Linked DNA regions of Homo sapiens: all the other regions are linked to region 1. The links are contacts of gene promoters, found by promoter capture Hi-C in blood cells and fetal thymus (Javierre and others, 2016). All regions are on one chromosome and are shown on one strand. The core of a region is centred on a gene start or on the middle of the fragment in contact, and the rest is flanking DNA. Distances in the headings are between cores, read along the strand shown.

What was found. Contacts are between HindIII fragments. The CHiCAGO score rates a contact against its expected background, and 5 or more counts as called.
Region 2: a contact is called between a fragment that was not itself captured here and the fragment with the promoter of MED13L in region 1, in 1 of 17 cell types (neutrophils). The highest score is 5.1, in neutrophils.
Region 3: a fragment that was not itself captured here is called in contact with the fragment with the promoter of MED13L in region 1 in 17 of 17 cell types (monocytes, naive B cells, megakaryocytes and 14 more); the score reaches 23.3 in monocytes.
Region 4: a contact is called between a fragment that was not itself captured here and the fragment with the promoter of MED13L in region 1, in 15 of 17 cell types (megakaryocytes, M2 macrophages, non-activated CD4 T cells and 12 more). The highest score is 11.8, in megakaryocytes.
Region 5: a contact is called between a fragment that was not itself captured here and the fragment with the promoter of MED13L in region 1, in 17 of 17 cell types (total B cells, monocytes, naive B cells and 14 more). The highest score is 31.1, in total B cells.

Annotation. Positions count from the first base shown.
Region 1 is chr12:116,276,381-116,279,081 of GRCh38, forward strand. It overlaps MED13L (mediator complex subunit 13L), which reads right to left and starts at 1,313. Exons shown (of 31, transcript NM_015335.5): 1 at 680-1,313. The coding sequence starts at 751. RefSeq lists silencers at 1,142-1,611, 1,662-1,721. The HindIII fragment of the contact is 4,130 bases long and covers 38-2,701 here.
Region 2 is chr12:115,944,868-115,947,568 of GRCh38, forward strand. No RefSeq gene overlaps it. Among named protein-coding and RNA genes, the nearest start is that of LINC02463, 60 kb to the left of the region's middle. The HindIII fragment of the contact is 1,549 bases long and covers 575-2,123 here.
Region 3 is chr12:116,599,188-116,601,888 of GRCh38, forward strand. No RefSeq gene overlaps it. Among named protein-coding and RNA genes, the nearest start is that of MAP1LC3B2, 41 kb to the left of the region's middle. The HindIII fragment of the contact is 266 bases long and covers 1,190-1,455 here.
Region 4 is chr12:116,005,227-116,007,927 of GRCh38, forward strand. MED13L (mediator complex subunit 13L) reads right to left here. Exons shown (of 31, transcript NM_015335.5): 11 at 2,185-2,410; 12 at 1,080-1,185; 13 at 643-767. Among named protein-coding and RNA genes, the nearest start is that of LINC02463, 120 kb to the left of the region's middle. The HindIII fragment of the contact is 5,074 bases long and covers 1-2,701 here.
Region 5 is chr12:116,536,914-116,539,614 of GRCh38, forward strand. No RefSeq gene overlaps it. Among named protein-coding and RNA genes, the nearest start is that of LINC00173, 4.8 kb to the left of the region's middle. RefSeq lists an enhancer at 472-701. The HindIII fragment of the contact is 184 bases long and covers 1,216-1,399 here.

The DNA of each region.
Region 1 (2,701 bases), core at 63-2,562:
AGTTTTTAAAAGACACAGGAGGAGAGAAAGAAGAAAAAGCTTTCTCCACCTTCCGTCGGCTCGGTGCAATGGCTTTACGGCTCTCCAGCATAGTAAGCCCCGAGAGGCAGGCGGCTGTCGATGTTTACAATCGCGGGAGCTTCGGGTGCAAGAGTCCTTTCCTGACACAATCGCATTCAATCAACTATTTTAGGGCGAAATTGCAGGTGTCATTATGGAATTTAAAAAAATTCAAAAGGCAGGCGGGCGGGCAGGCAGCTGATCCAACAACGGGGGAAGAGGTTGCCGATCGGAGGCGCGGCAGCACAAGGCAAAGCCTTCCACATTTACGGGGGGAAAAAAAGGGGGGAAAGGGGAGGAGAAGGGGAGTGCGATTGCAACAGAGGGTGGGCGTTCGAAGTGCGACCCAGAATCCGCAGCTCCGAGACTTCCACATGCAAATTCCACGCCGAGCGCCGCGCTCACAAATGATTTTTAAAGAGCCAAATAAACACTGGATGGGATCCAAGGCGAGAGAGAGACGATCCAAAAGGGGGAGAATCGGCGAGAGGCGAACGGCGGGGAGACGCGAGGGAGGGGCGAAGTCCCGGCGGCGGGAGGAGAAAGTTGGTCGGCGGCGGAGGTCGGGGACCCCCCCCCTTCCCCGGCACAGCCCCCTCCCCGCAGCCCGGCTACTCACCAGCGAAAAGAGGTTGGAGTGACAATCCTCCAGGCTCGCCCCGTTCGCCACCCAGTTCGCTGCCGCAGTCATGATCCTCCGCGAGCCCGGCCGCCAGAGCGGGGCATGTCGGAGCGAGGCGTCCGAGGCGAGGCCGGGCCGGGCGGCGGCGCCTCGCCGGGGAGCGCGGGGCGGCCGGGCCGCCGCCGCCGCCGGGGGAGGGCGCGAGGGCCGGCGGGCAGGCGGGAGGCGCCGCGGCGACGCCGCGCCGGGGGCAGCGGGCCCGGGCTGGCGGGGGGGGCGCGCGCCCCGGGCCGGCGCTGCGGGCCGGCCACCGCCTCCGCCTTCCCTGCTCCTCAGCCGCCGCCGCCGCCGCTGCTGCCGCTGCCGCCGCCTTGTTTATCTCCAGCCACCGACTCCCCCTCGGCCCCCGCCGGCGCGCGAGGGGAGGCGAGCCCCGGAGCCGCCGCCGCCGCCTCGGAGCCGCCGCCGCCGCGGAGCGCGAACTCGCGAAGGGGGGGGTGCGGACGAAGCCAGCGGGCGACCCCGGCAGCCGAGCGACGTCCCCTCCTTCCTCTTCCTCCCCCACCCCCCCCTCCTCCCCAGTCAGCCTCGCTTCTCCTCCCTCCCCGGGCTCGCTTGCTCTGACAGCAATGGCGGCCGCCGACCGCGGCTCGGCCCGCCATTGGCTGGCGCTTGGTCACGTGACGGGCGCCGGCCGCGCGGGGGGAGCGAGGGGCGGGCGGGGGAGGGGTCCGGAGTGGCGGCGGCGGCGGCGGCTCGCGGGAGGCGCTGCTGAGCTGAGCGCGGCCGGGTCCTCCGGCCGGGAAGAGGGAGGGAGGGAGGCAGAGAGGGAGAGAAAGAAGTGCGGGCGGCCGGGCTCCCCGGCGGGCGGCGGACTGCCGGCCCGTGGCTGCCGTGGGCTGCCCCTCGTGGCCGCCCCGCCCCCTCGCGGTGCACTGATCGTGGCGGGGCGGGACCGTGGGTCCCGGGCGCGCCCGTGGTGGCCGCGGAGGAGGGCGCGGGACCCCCGGCCTGTGCCCTCGCAGCCCAGGCCGGCTGGCGTGGCGCGGCGGCCGCGATGTGGGCCAGGCAGCGGGTCCGAGTGCCCTGGGGAATGTGTCCTCAGAGGCTCGCGCCGCCGTCCGCCTTTTGCAGAGGAGAAAACTAAAGCACAAAGGGATTAAATCACTTGCCCGAGGTCGCACACTTGGGAAGAGGAGTCCAGATTCGAACCCGCGCACAGTGAAGCCAAGCTCTTGGACAAGGTTTCACAGGCTTCGCCCAGGGATATTCACGGCTGCCATAGACGGAGCGCTTACTGTGTTCCAGACACTGTGCGTTTAATACAGAAATGTTTATTGAGCCCTTACTCCTAGTTACTGTGTGCACTCATTCATTCATTCATTCATTCATTACATAAATGTTTCCTGAGCTCCTGCTGTGTGCCAGAATCTGTTATAACTTCCAGGCACTGTGCTAAGGCCGTGTTGGGAGCAGACCCTTCTTCCTGGCGTCATTCATTGGATAACCAACATTTCCTGAGTGTATATGGCCTGGGAGTCCGGAGGAGTGCTGCTATGAAGAGAAGCTCTCCCAGTCCTCAAGAAATGGATCCCCGAAAAGGGGGAGGAGAAAACAATGTCTTCACTAATACGCCTCCAAACATGGAACAATCAGCTGTTTCAGGTAGATTAAGCTAAAAGAGGAAGAGTGGATGGCTGGCACAGTGGCTCACGCCGGTAATCCTAGCCGAGGTTTAAGACCAGCCTGAGCAATGTAGCAAGAACCCCCGTCATGACAAAAAAAATAAAATACAAAAATACAAAAATTAGCCAGGCGTAGTGTGGCATGTGCCTGTAGCCCTAGCTACTCGAAAGGCTGAGGTGGGAGGATAACTTGAGCCCTGGAGGCAGAGGCTGCAGTGAGCCCAGTGAGCCGAGGTCGCATCACCGTACTCCAGCCTGAGTGACAGAGAGAGGCCCTGTCTCAAAAAAAAAAAAAAAAAAAAAAAGGAAGAGTAGAAAGCAGGGAAGAGATGAG
Region 2 (2,701 bases), core at 99-2,598, 330 kb before region 1:
GAACCGTGTTAGTAATTCGCAAAAGCACAGGGGTGATTTAGGGTCTTGAGCTCAGTGGACAGTATTGCTGCTTTCCCCGACATCGTGGACGCCCACAGGCAGATGGAAAGGTCAGGAATACAGATGAGGAAAGAGCCGATCTGGCCTCAGCTCAGAAGCCTTCACAAGCTACAGAGGCCTTACCAGAGAAATCTCCCTGCTTGCTCAGTTTTGCAACCGGCTCTGGAACAAGTGACCTGTCAGGCTTCTATGCCTAGGACTTGAAGGGACGTGGAGGCTTCTTTACTTGGAAGCTGATAGCGTTTGGCTGTGTCGCCACCCAAATCTCATCTTGAATTGTGGCTCCCATAATCCCCATACTTCATACGTGGGACCCGGTGGGAGGTAATTGAATCACGGGGGCGGGTCTTTCCGGTGCTGTTCTTGCGATAGTGAGTAAGTCTCACGAGATCTGATGGTTTTATAAAGGGGGTTCCCCTGCACACTTGCACGCTCTTGCCGTGACTTTGCTCCTCGTTTGCCTTCCGCCATGATTGTGAGGCCTCCCCAGCCACGTGGAACTGTGAGTCCACTAAGCTTCTCCCCTTGATAAATTACCCAGCCTCGGGTATGTCTTTATTAGCAGCGTGAGAACAGACTAATACAGAAGGGAAGAAGGCAAGAATATCTCTCCAGCAACCCAATTAAAAATCTCAGGACAGTTCAGGCCCCTGGAGGCTTTTACTTGAGTCAAATCCTCAGGAAGGCCAGCACTGCTCCTGTAAATCACTGTCTTCCTCCTGGGATGGAAAGGGACCAGGAAGCCAGAGTGCCCAGCGTGCCAGGGTTTCACTGCCAGATGTCTAGAAGGCCACATCCAACCGAGATGCCCAATTCCAAAAACGTCCACAAGTCAGGAGGTAGAGTGGGGCAGATGTGTGGGGCTGGCCCAGGACGGGGATGTTTGTTTTTGTTTGGGGGCCTGTAGGCCTGGGAGCTATTAACAAATGCCTATTAATCTTCCTGTTGGTTTCAGGGGGCAAAATTAGAGCCAGAAATGAGTCTGGAGCTACATGGACCTAGGAAGAATATTTAGAAGCCCTGCCCTCATGAACTGGGAAGGAAGAAAAGACACCTTCCCCCACAACGCCACAGGAGCTATCAAATGTGCTCTTTTTAAAGTCATTTCTATTCTTTAAAAAAATGCACCATTGTGGTGCAGCCACTGTGAAAAGCAGCATGGCGCTTCCTCAAACAATTAAAAACAGAATTACTCTGTGATCTAACAATTCCAAAATGTGTACGGCCATGTCCATTTTAGCATTAGTCACGATACCCAAAAGGTGGAGGCAAGCCAGTGTCCACTGAAGCCTGAAGGGATCAACAAAATCTGGTATATACATGCAATGGAGTGTGGTTCCACCTAGAAAAGGAGGGAAATTCTGGCACCTGCTACACAGGGGTGAACTCGAAGACATTATGCCAAGTGAAATAAGCTGGTCACAAAAGGACAAATACTGCGTGATTCCATTCATAGGAGGTGCCTAGAGGAGTCAAGATCACAGAGACAGAAAGAATAGTGGTGTCAGCGACTGGGGAGTTAGCGTTTGATGGGCACAGGGTTTGTTTTGCAAGAGGAAGAGGTTCTGGAGATTGTTTGCACGGCACTGTGGAGCTGCTCAACCCTACTGAGTTGTACACTTAAAAGTGGTTAAGATGGTACATTTCACATTATGTGTATTTTTACCACAATTGAATTATTTTTTAAATGCACCCATTTTAAATGGATAATTCCCTGTGCTTTGACAAATATAACACCACCAACTAAAACAGAGATGTTCCTCTCACTCTACTAAGTTCCCTCATGCCCTTTTGCAGTCTGTATTATTTCTAAACATCCTATTGGATTAAAATTTAATTAAGTAGAAATGATATCTCCAATGCCCTGGGTCTGCTCCAAGCCTAAAATCTCTGAGGCTACCAGGAGCCATTTCACATGCAGGTCCCCTTCTGCCCGGGGCCCACGGGCCTTTCCCGAGGTGTCTGTGGGGGTTTACAGGGGCAGGGAGGCACCATAGGAAGGATATTTGCTTTGGCTTCTTCAAGTCTAATGAACGCCAAGGTATTGAATGTAACAACATTAAAGCTTCTCCTCCTCACACACATACACGTGCACACACACATGCACATGTGTGCATACACACGTGCGCGCAGACCCCCCACCCCCCAGCAGCTACCAGCCTCTTAGCTCAGTCTTCTATGCACTATAAATTTGCCAAGCCAGATTGCTCTTCTCAGCCACCCCTACACCTGGCACCTATGCCCAACCGGGAATCTGTCCCCTGGGGCTCTTCACCTAAACGAGGGCTGCCCTGGGAGAGTGGACTCAGACCAGCCCCCCAGGGCCTTGGCCCCCTGCTTTCAAATCCCTTGACTTTTGCCCATTAAGATTTGTCAGTGAACATCGTCCCCTGGTGGAAAATCTAGGACATAACAAATATGTATCTGAGCTTCTGCGGTATTTCCTAGAATTTATTCATTCCAAAATATTTGCGAGGGAAATAACTTTTCGGTGGAGAAATCCAGAAGACGCAGCCTTAACCAAGGGTTCAAGGTTAATGTCATCTGTAAGATGATACGATGACATCTCGAACCCTCCCAACACTAATGCATTGGGAAGGACGTTGTCACTTCCATGGTGTTCTTGTCCCAAGATGCATAA
Region 3 (2,701 bases), core at 73-2,572, 320 kb after region 1:
AACCAAGTAGCCAGTCCTGGGCTTAAAAATTATTTGTTTCCAACTCTTTTTCTCTTTTCCGTCCCCGTATTGACAGGAACAGCTGTCTTCTTTTTAAAAGGGCTACTTCCATCTCTTTCATTTTATTGTTTCCACGTCTTTGATTGTTTTGGAACAAGTCCGATGGTGGAGACGGAACAGGGAGATCACGAAGACAGCCTCTCCTTTAAAAAATGACCATGATCTCACGCCTCCTCCCAACCCAGTGGAAACTGGAGCACCGCTCAAGGAGACGCTGCTGTCACAGGATCCTGCTTACGGGCACGAAAGCTGGGAAATTTCAGAGCCAATCTGGGCCAGGGGAGGCTGGAGCTCGTGAGCTGGGCTGGAAATGATTCTTCCAGACTGCAGAGAAGACAGTGGCCTGCCCGCCGGCCGGCCTGCCTGCCCTCCCCGAGGCCAACAGGAAATCCCAGAATTTATAGATGACCCCGTTACAAGGCAAGTGTTTTGGAACAAATTGTTCTTCTTTTAAAGCCTTGTTTTCCACTAGTTTTTCTTTCTGGAGTCCAACCGCAACCCCCACGCCCCCCACCCCGCCCCACCCACCCACCCTTTCCACCTTCCCGGTGTCCTTGTTAAACCGGGGCCATGGCGCCACCTGCTGCCTGTCGTGGGCAGCGGGACTCTGCCGGGATCCGGTCTTGGGTCCTCCCCCCACCTCCCTTGTCCCAAAATGGGTGGGAGAGTGACTTTCTGGCTCCTGTCCCGAGGAGGGTTTGTATAAAGATCACGTATCAAGCCTCAAGAGAACTGCTTCCGTAGTTACGTGACCTAAAGACTCATGGCAAACTCTTCCCCCGTCACTTGTCCTCCAGGAGAGCCAGAGCTGGCTGGCAGAAAAGGCAAGTCAGATGGCATCACCATCCAAGGCCAGGTCTCCACTCCCTGAAAACCAAGTATGCCAGCTTTGAACAACCATGTCAACCCAATGAGCCTTGATTTCTTCAGTACCCTCTGTAGCCAATTTGCTAGGTGGTATGGAAAATGGATATGCGTGTGCCTGGCCCATGGAAGGGGCTTAATCAACGTCTGCATCCTTTCTCTCCTATTTGGAATATTCCTTATTGGGAAGGAATAGCTTGGAGGGTCTTAGAGGTGAAGGCCAGACCTCAGAAAACTGGTATATTTATCTCCTTATAAGAATGTAAGCTTCAGCACTTTGGGAGGCCAAGGCGGGCAGATCATCTGAGGTCAGGAGTTTGAGACCAGCCTGGCCAACATGGAAAAACTCCATCTCTACTAAAAATACAAAAATTAGCCAGGCATGGTGGTGCACACCTGTAATCCCAGCTACTCGGGAGGCTGAGGCAGGAGAATCGCTTGAACCAGGAGGTGGAGATGGTAGTGAGCCGTGTACCACTGCACTCTAGCCTGGTCAACAGAGCAAGATTCTCTGTCTCAAAAAAAAGAGTAAGCTTCAAGAGGGTAGGCCACCCCAGTGCAGATAACAAGCCTCAGCAAAGCAGTAAAGGAGCACAGGCTTGAAGTCCTTACACCCCAGCACCCGCTCAGGAGCTAAGTGACCTTGGGCAAGCTCAGTGTCCTTACTTGTGTCTGGGGATAGTAATAGTAATCATACCTCAAAGGGTGGCTGTCGCGCATTGAAATGAGAGAGGGCACGTAAATAATTTAGCAATGGGACTTGTAGGTAGAAAGTGTAGGATTGTAGAGACAACTCTAGCTATAATCATTATTATGAGATGACCACAGTGTCTGACATATAAGCATTTAATGAATATCTGAAAAACAAATGAATGAAAACCTCATAGAAAATAGGTCAGAAGACTTTGCTTAGTTCCATTTCAGCCACCAACTTGCTATGAGACATGAAATACCCCTGTGCCTGCTCTTCCCCATCCAGAAACCTTTCTTTATTGAGGATAAGACTCTCTGATCGGCACCTCAGTTTTCCCACCTGTCAAATGGGCACGACATTCATCTTACCTGTTGCTCAGAGATATGGAGGGGATCTGTTGAGGCATGTATGTGAAGCTGCTTTGAAAAGTTTAAAGAGTAGGCTGGGCATGGTGGGCTCATGCCTGTAATCCGGAACTTGGGAGGACAAAGTGGGAGGATCGCTTGAGTCCAGGAGTTTTAGACCAGCCTGGGCAACATAGTGAGATCTCTCTCTACATAGAAAAATACTTTTTTAAAAATAAAATTTAAAAATAAAGAGTAAAGGAAGGAAGGGAGTCTTTATTTTCTTTTAGGGTGGTTCCATGTGTCTGGTGGCTTTGCCCTTCCCTGAACGGGTGCCTGGGGCTCTCTGGAACAAATGGTGTCCCTCCTGACACCAAGTGGTAGTCATATCTGAGCCCCAACTCACTGGCAGCAACATCTGGTGAGTCTGACAATACAAACCCTAGGCAAATTAACTCCTTCACTACTGGCACAAGTTGAGCACACTCCAAGAGTGGGTTTCCTCTCTAGAAAAGCTCTTTTTCCAACCCAAAGGGCATAGGAAAGTGCATGGTGGGTCTCAGGCATGGTGACTAATTGGGGTGACTCACAGCTAGAGGGAGGTGGATCAGGAAGCAAGACTCAGGCCAACTTAGGCACTGTAGAGAGGTGTTTCAATCCAGTTCAGTGGGCCCTGGGGAGCCATAGAGGAGTCATAAGCAGGGGAGAAAGATATCCAGAAAGAGACTTCAGGCAACAC
Region 4 (2,701 bases), core at 111-2,610, 270 kb before region 1:
AAAACAGGCACTTGTATTTGCCCAAAGGTACAGAGTTGGTTAGGAGGATGAGGACACACATTTCCTGACTCTTAGTTCTGCTGATCTCCAAAGAATTATAATAATTATTCTTCTCTGTCATTTTAATTGTATGCTGCCTTGTAGTATTTAACTTCTATGTATATAAATTCTATTCCCCTACAATGATGCCATGATCTTAAAAAGTATAAATCATATTTGCATACCTAACCTCTGACTTATTAGATGAATAAAAAGTTATGTGGGCATTACTTTAAAAATCAAACCTAAGGGACAATGTAATACATTTCTAGTAGTCCTGTGATATTTAGAAGAATTTATTACAATAAATGTGAGAGATTTTAATATGTACAACTGGAATACACTAATGAAAAAGATCCTTCAATGAACAAAACTCGAGGTGGATACACTACACTAATAACCTTTACAATCTTTTCCAAGTATACAAACTTTTTTTATACAGCATGACTAGATTCCAGTATACAGACATTTATAAAGAACATTCAGAACCTGAAATAAGAGCCCCCAAATTCAGGACACCAAACTATAAAGAAATACTACAACACTGATATAAAGTCCTTTCATGTAGCGAAATTTTTGTTTATGTAGCTACGGCAAACTCACCCCAAGTTCGTCGTCATCAGAATTATCAAAGATGTTGTCTAAGTCATGCAGGGAAGGTGCCAAATCTGTTACCTGTGTAAGGCTACTGGAGCCAGCTCTGCCAGCAGCATTATCCTGCCGGACATCTGTAGGAAAGGAGGCAAAAGACACAGAATAAACAACTCCACCAAGCGCAAAGGAGTAGGGAGAGGACACGGATCTCAATGAACATGACCTGCCTGTGAGTTTTTCCCTATGGTTTTAGTTAAATTTAGAGACAATTATTTCCAAATATGTTTATCAGTTTTGAAAGGAACTGAAAAACAAACTATGAAAAATATATTAAAGATGAGATGAAATTCTTATTACAATAAGAATAAAATTTTACATTGAGAAGCATCTCCTTTGCATTTCATTTTAGCAACAATCCAAGTGAGGCAAATAATCATTGTACACACCTGTTTTAGTAGCAGAACTGAAAATAGACATGGCATTTTTCCCATCAGGCACCGGCGTGGAATGACCTGGTGTAGTGACATCCTTGGTACCAAATCCATCCTCTGACTGTATAATAAATTCAGCCAAACAAAACACATGAACACCAACCCAAAGTGTGAAATATGAGGGAGAACACAAAGAATTAGAGGGTAGAATGGAACTTGTTATGAGCACAAGTATGATAAACCATGGTCTATGCAACCAAAGGAAGTAAAAGATAGGTCCTTTCTCTGGAATTTCAACAGAACCATGAGCTCCCCACTTTCCCCTCAATCCTATGGGGTATTCTGAGTGAATCAGTGTTTTATGCCTAAGCAGTACTGGTGGCATTTGATTACAGACCTGCCATGGTGTTAAAAGCTGCCTTTAACAACATTTTAGATGCTAAATTATAGATTTGGCTTTCTGGGTCTAGGGAGATCTGTATAAAACAATCTAAAAAGCATTCCCCTAACTATACCGGCCTCTTATAATTGTTTTATTTCCTTGATTCTCAAGAATACCTATTTCAATGGCCCATATTTTAGAATGTCTGAAAATTTGAAATTAAAGACAGCAGACACAACCAGTACTCATTTTTATGATGATGAAACCAGTAAAATTAATACTGATAGTCTATGGGTAGAGTTGATATTAACCCAGAGAATATATAGGTACAGCGCTCAGCACAGTAAGGATAAGAAGCGCTCGATAAATTGTGTATACCTACTGTTACAAACATTTTTTCCTTTACATTTTGGGTAGTTCGGAATAATATTTTAAAAGAAATAGGGAGCATAGGCCAACAAGAATTAGCATATGAGAGAAAACATGCACTGTACAAGCTATAGCCTGGAAAATATGAGGCTTCATTTATGTTCGGCTGACTTTTAAACAAAGGTGAGCCATGACATAAAAAGGAACAATACGCTGTTCAATACAATAGTACCAAGAGCATGAATATGGGGACAGAGCAATCAGGCAAGACTATCTCAAACGTTCTGCCTCCAAAGTCTTCCCACACATGTTGTACTGACATAGATAGAAACCCACACCATGCTGGACTCTCTCTCTGTTAAATGGTACCTTATTCTTTTTCAGGGAATCTTTCTCCGTCCCTTGTTTGCATTTCTTGTTGGCTGTAAAGATGTATTTTATGTCACCATCTTCAAAGGTATATGGGTCATTCACTTCTCCCAAACTGTCTCCAGGTTGTTGTGATAGAGGCAATGGGTCAAGGAAGTGGAGTGGCTGCAACTGGGGCTGTTTGTCTTGCCAGATTTTAAACCGTTTGTTAGGTTGTGCTAAGAGTCTAAAAGACAAAAAAAAAAAAAAAAAAAAGAGCATTTATGCCTTAAAGCATTTACAAAGTTTAAACTTTTTGTAAAAACAACTAAAAATTCACCGATATAGTGATTTGCTTTTACAGTTTATATTCATGATTAAATAAAAATTAGCATACTTTGTCAAGAATATATGTTTTTGTCTCTGGGTCCATCAATTCCACTTAAGAGCACAGGTTCTCAGGACAGACTGCCTAGTTTCAAATTCCATCTGTGTCATTTACTAACTGCATGGCCCTAGTTTCTCAGTTATAAAATTA
Region 5 (2,701 bases), core at 58-2,557, 260 kb after region 1:
CGGGCTAATTTTTGTATTTTTAGTAGGGACGGGCTTTCGCCATGTTGGCCAGACTGGTCTCGAACTCCTGGCTTCAAGTGATCTGCCCACTTCAGCCTCCCAAAGTGCTGGGATTACAGGCATTTAATCACTGCACCCGGGTGAGCCACTGCACCCGGCCAAGTTCATATTCTAAAAGTGAAACATTAATGCTGCATTGTGTATTTTTTGGTCAAGTGCTTCAGATGTGTGGAAGGAATTTCTTTGTATAAATGCAATTATTCGTCACCATGATGATAATTATAACGAGGGTGACTGCACAGAACTGTGCCTCCCCAGCAAGCATGGGCTGGGCAGGGCCGGGTATTCCCTTCGCTGACTTGCTTCACTAGTTGACTAACAGACCTTATTCCCGGGCCTGAGCTGATGATATCCTGCCAATGCCAGCTTCCCAACATGGAGGGGACGCAAGAGCGAGCGCCATGGGATCCTGGGGGAAAAGCAGCCTGTGTTTGCTGCTGCTTTGACAGTTGAGGCTCTGAGAGGGACTGGCAAACAATGGGAAATGAAACATTTGAGTGGTTGCAAAAAATTCCATGGGAAATCCCCCCTGGTGGTATTTATGTGCGACGGCTGTGACAAGGAGAGCGCAGGGCTTTCGATTTCAAGGGTTCCTGAGCAGACCACAATGGCCTTCCAAGATGGCAATCCCCGGGAACAGCTCTCTCGGCCACAAAAGGCCAGTTTGTCTGTCCAGGGAAGATCTGGCCCCATGCATCAAGTTGGCCATGAGCTGCAGTGTCTTCTTTGGGGCATGACCCACATTTATAGGGTCTGGGCCTCTGAACCTTCTGCTCCTAAGACAGATCTATCTCAGTTGTCCCTCTGGTTTTCCCAGGCCTCAAGGACCTGGGGGCTGATAGGGGCTGAGGGGTTTCCCTCGGGCTCAGCCTCCATCTGCAGAACTGTGGGAACCTCAGCCTCCATCAGACCCCTCCCCATTTTCTGGTCAGCACGTGGCCTCCTCCTGTTTCCTCCATTCCCGTTGGTAATGGACATTTATTTAACTTTTACTCCCCCTCCATTCTCATTTAGAAAAGAAAGTGAACTGATATTAACCAATCTTTGTTTTGCCTTCTTTAACACTAATGCATATGCAAAATAGTTACCACTATTGATAATATCTTATTGCTGCTGTGATATATGTGTGTATATGTACAGATCTGCTTGAAGGTAAGCTTTATATAGATTTTTAGAGATACTTGGTAAATGAGAAAATGGAAACTGAAAGAGGTTAAATAAACTGCCCATGTGTATTGGTCATGAGGTTTCAGTTGCAAAGTGACAAAATCCTGACTTAGATGAACTTAAACCGGATGGAAAATGTACATTGTATTATTTGAGAAGCAAGGTCTGGATAAGCTTCAGGCATGGCTGGATCCAGGCCCTCAGTTAAGTCTTTAGGAATTTCCCTCTCTCTAGCTTTTTGGCTTTGCTTTTCCCTGTATTGGTTTCATGTTTAGATTGGCTCACTTCACCTGTTTTACATCTTTCCAGAGTCAAATCCAGCCTTTTTCCTGGTTGCCTCCATAAAAGTCCCAGGGTTAGGTTTAGTGTGCTCTGATAGATTCAGCTGCCCATTGCTGAAGCAGTGACTCTGGCAACAGGGATGGACTGATCTAAGTGCCCAGGTTCCAGTCACTGCTGAAGCCCAGCCAGACCACCTGGACACAGTAAGAGTGAGTGGTTCCCCCAAAGAAAACTGGGGTGCTCTTACCAGAAGAAGGAGGAATCGACAAAAAGACCTGATGTCCTAAACTCCCGTGTCACACTGTCACTAATGGGCAGGCAGACCCATACAGCAGCTCCTCTGCATCTTCATGCTGCTAGAGACCACCACCGGGACCACCTCCCTCCTCCATGCTCTATCCTGCCCTGTGCCTCCAGCCCCGCCCCTGCTGCAGGAATTCACTCTAGTCAGTAGTTTTCAAAATGTGCGGGAAGGAGGAAGCCAGTGGAAGAGAGCAGGTGGCTGGGTGACCTGTGGCTATGGGATTCCCCTCCTCTATTTCAACCATCCAGCAATTCTTGTGTCTCTTTGTAGATTCAGTTTCCTTGTACACTTTTATTTAAACAAAGGACACCCCAGATTTTTTAAACTTGCAAATCAGCAATTTTTCTGGAATCTATGTCTACTTACCCTAAATTAAGGAACAATAGCTCAGAAAGAGGCAGGAAACTGACAACACGTCAAATGAGTGCCAAGGGGATCTGAGAAACCACACCTCCCGATTCCCATCTCTTGCCCTTTGCACCCACGGCCTTGCAGATGGGGTCAAGATTTGTGGGCTTCTGATTTATTGGCCAAGGATGCAGACCTTAACATGTAAGTGGAGCAGCTTCCCAGAAAAGAGAAGGAAGAGGATACCTTTGCACAGTTTTTTTCTAGTCTCTGGGTTCTGTGCCCCCAGGGCAGGCAGCCTCTGGGGACTCCCTGTAGGTAGGATCCTGCCAGAATGGAGAAAAACATCCCAATTCCTGTTATTCCCTCCTGGTCCTGGGAGCTTACATCACCATTCCAGGAGAACTTACATGAGCAAGCCATGTCATGCTTCCGTTTAGGAGGATGTTTACAAACCACTATTCTGTCCTCTGAGTGTCTGGAAAGCTGGTGTCTGTGTACCAGGCCCTGCAATGCATTTCAAACACAGCTTTCTGCTGC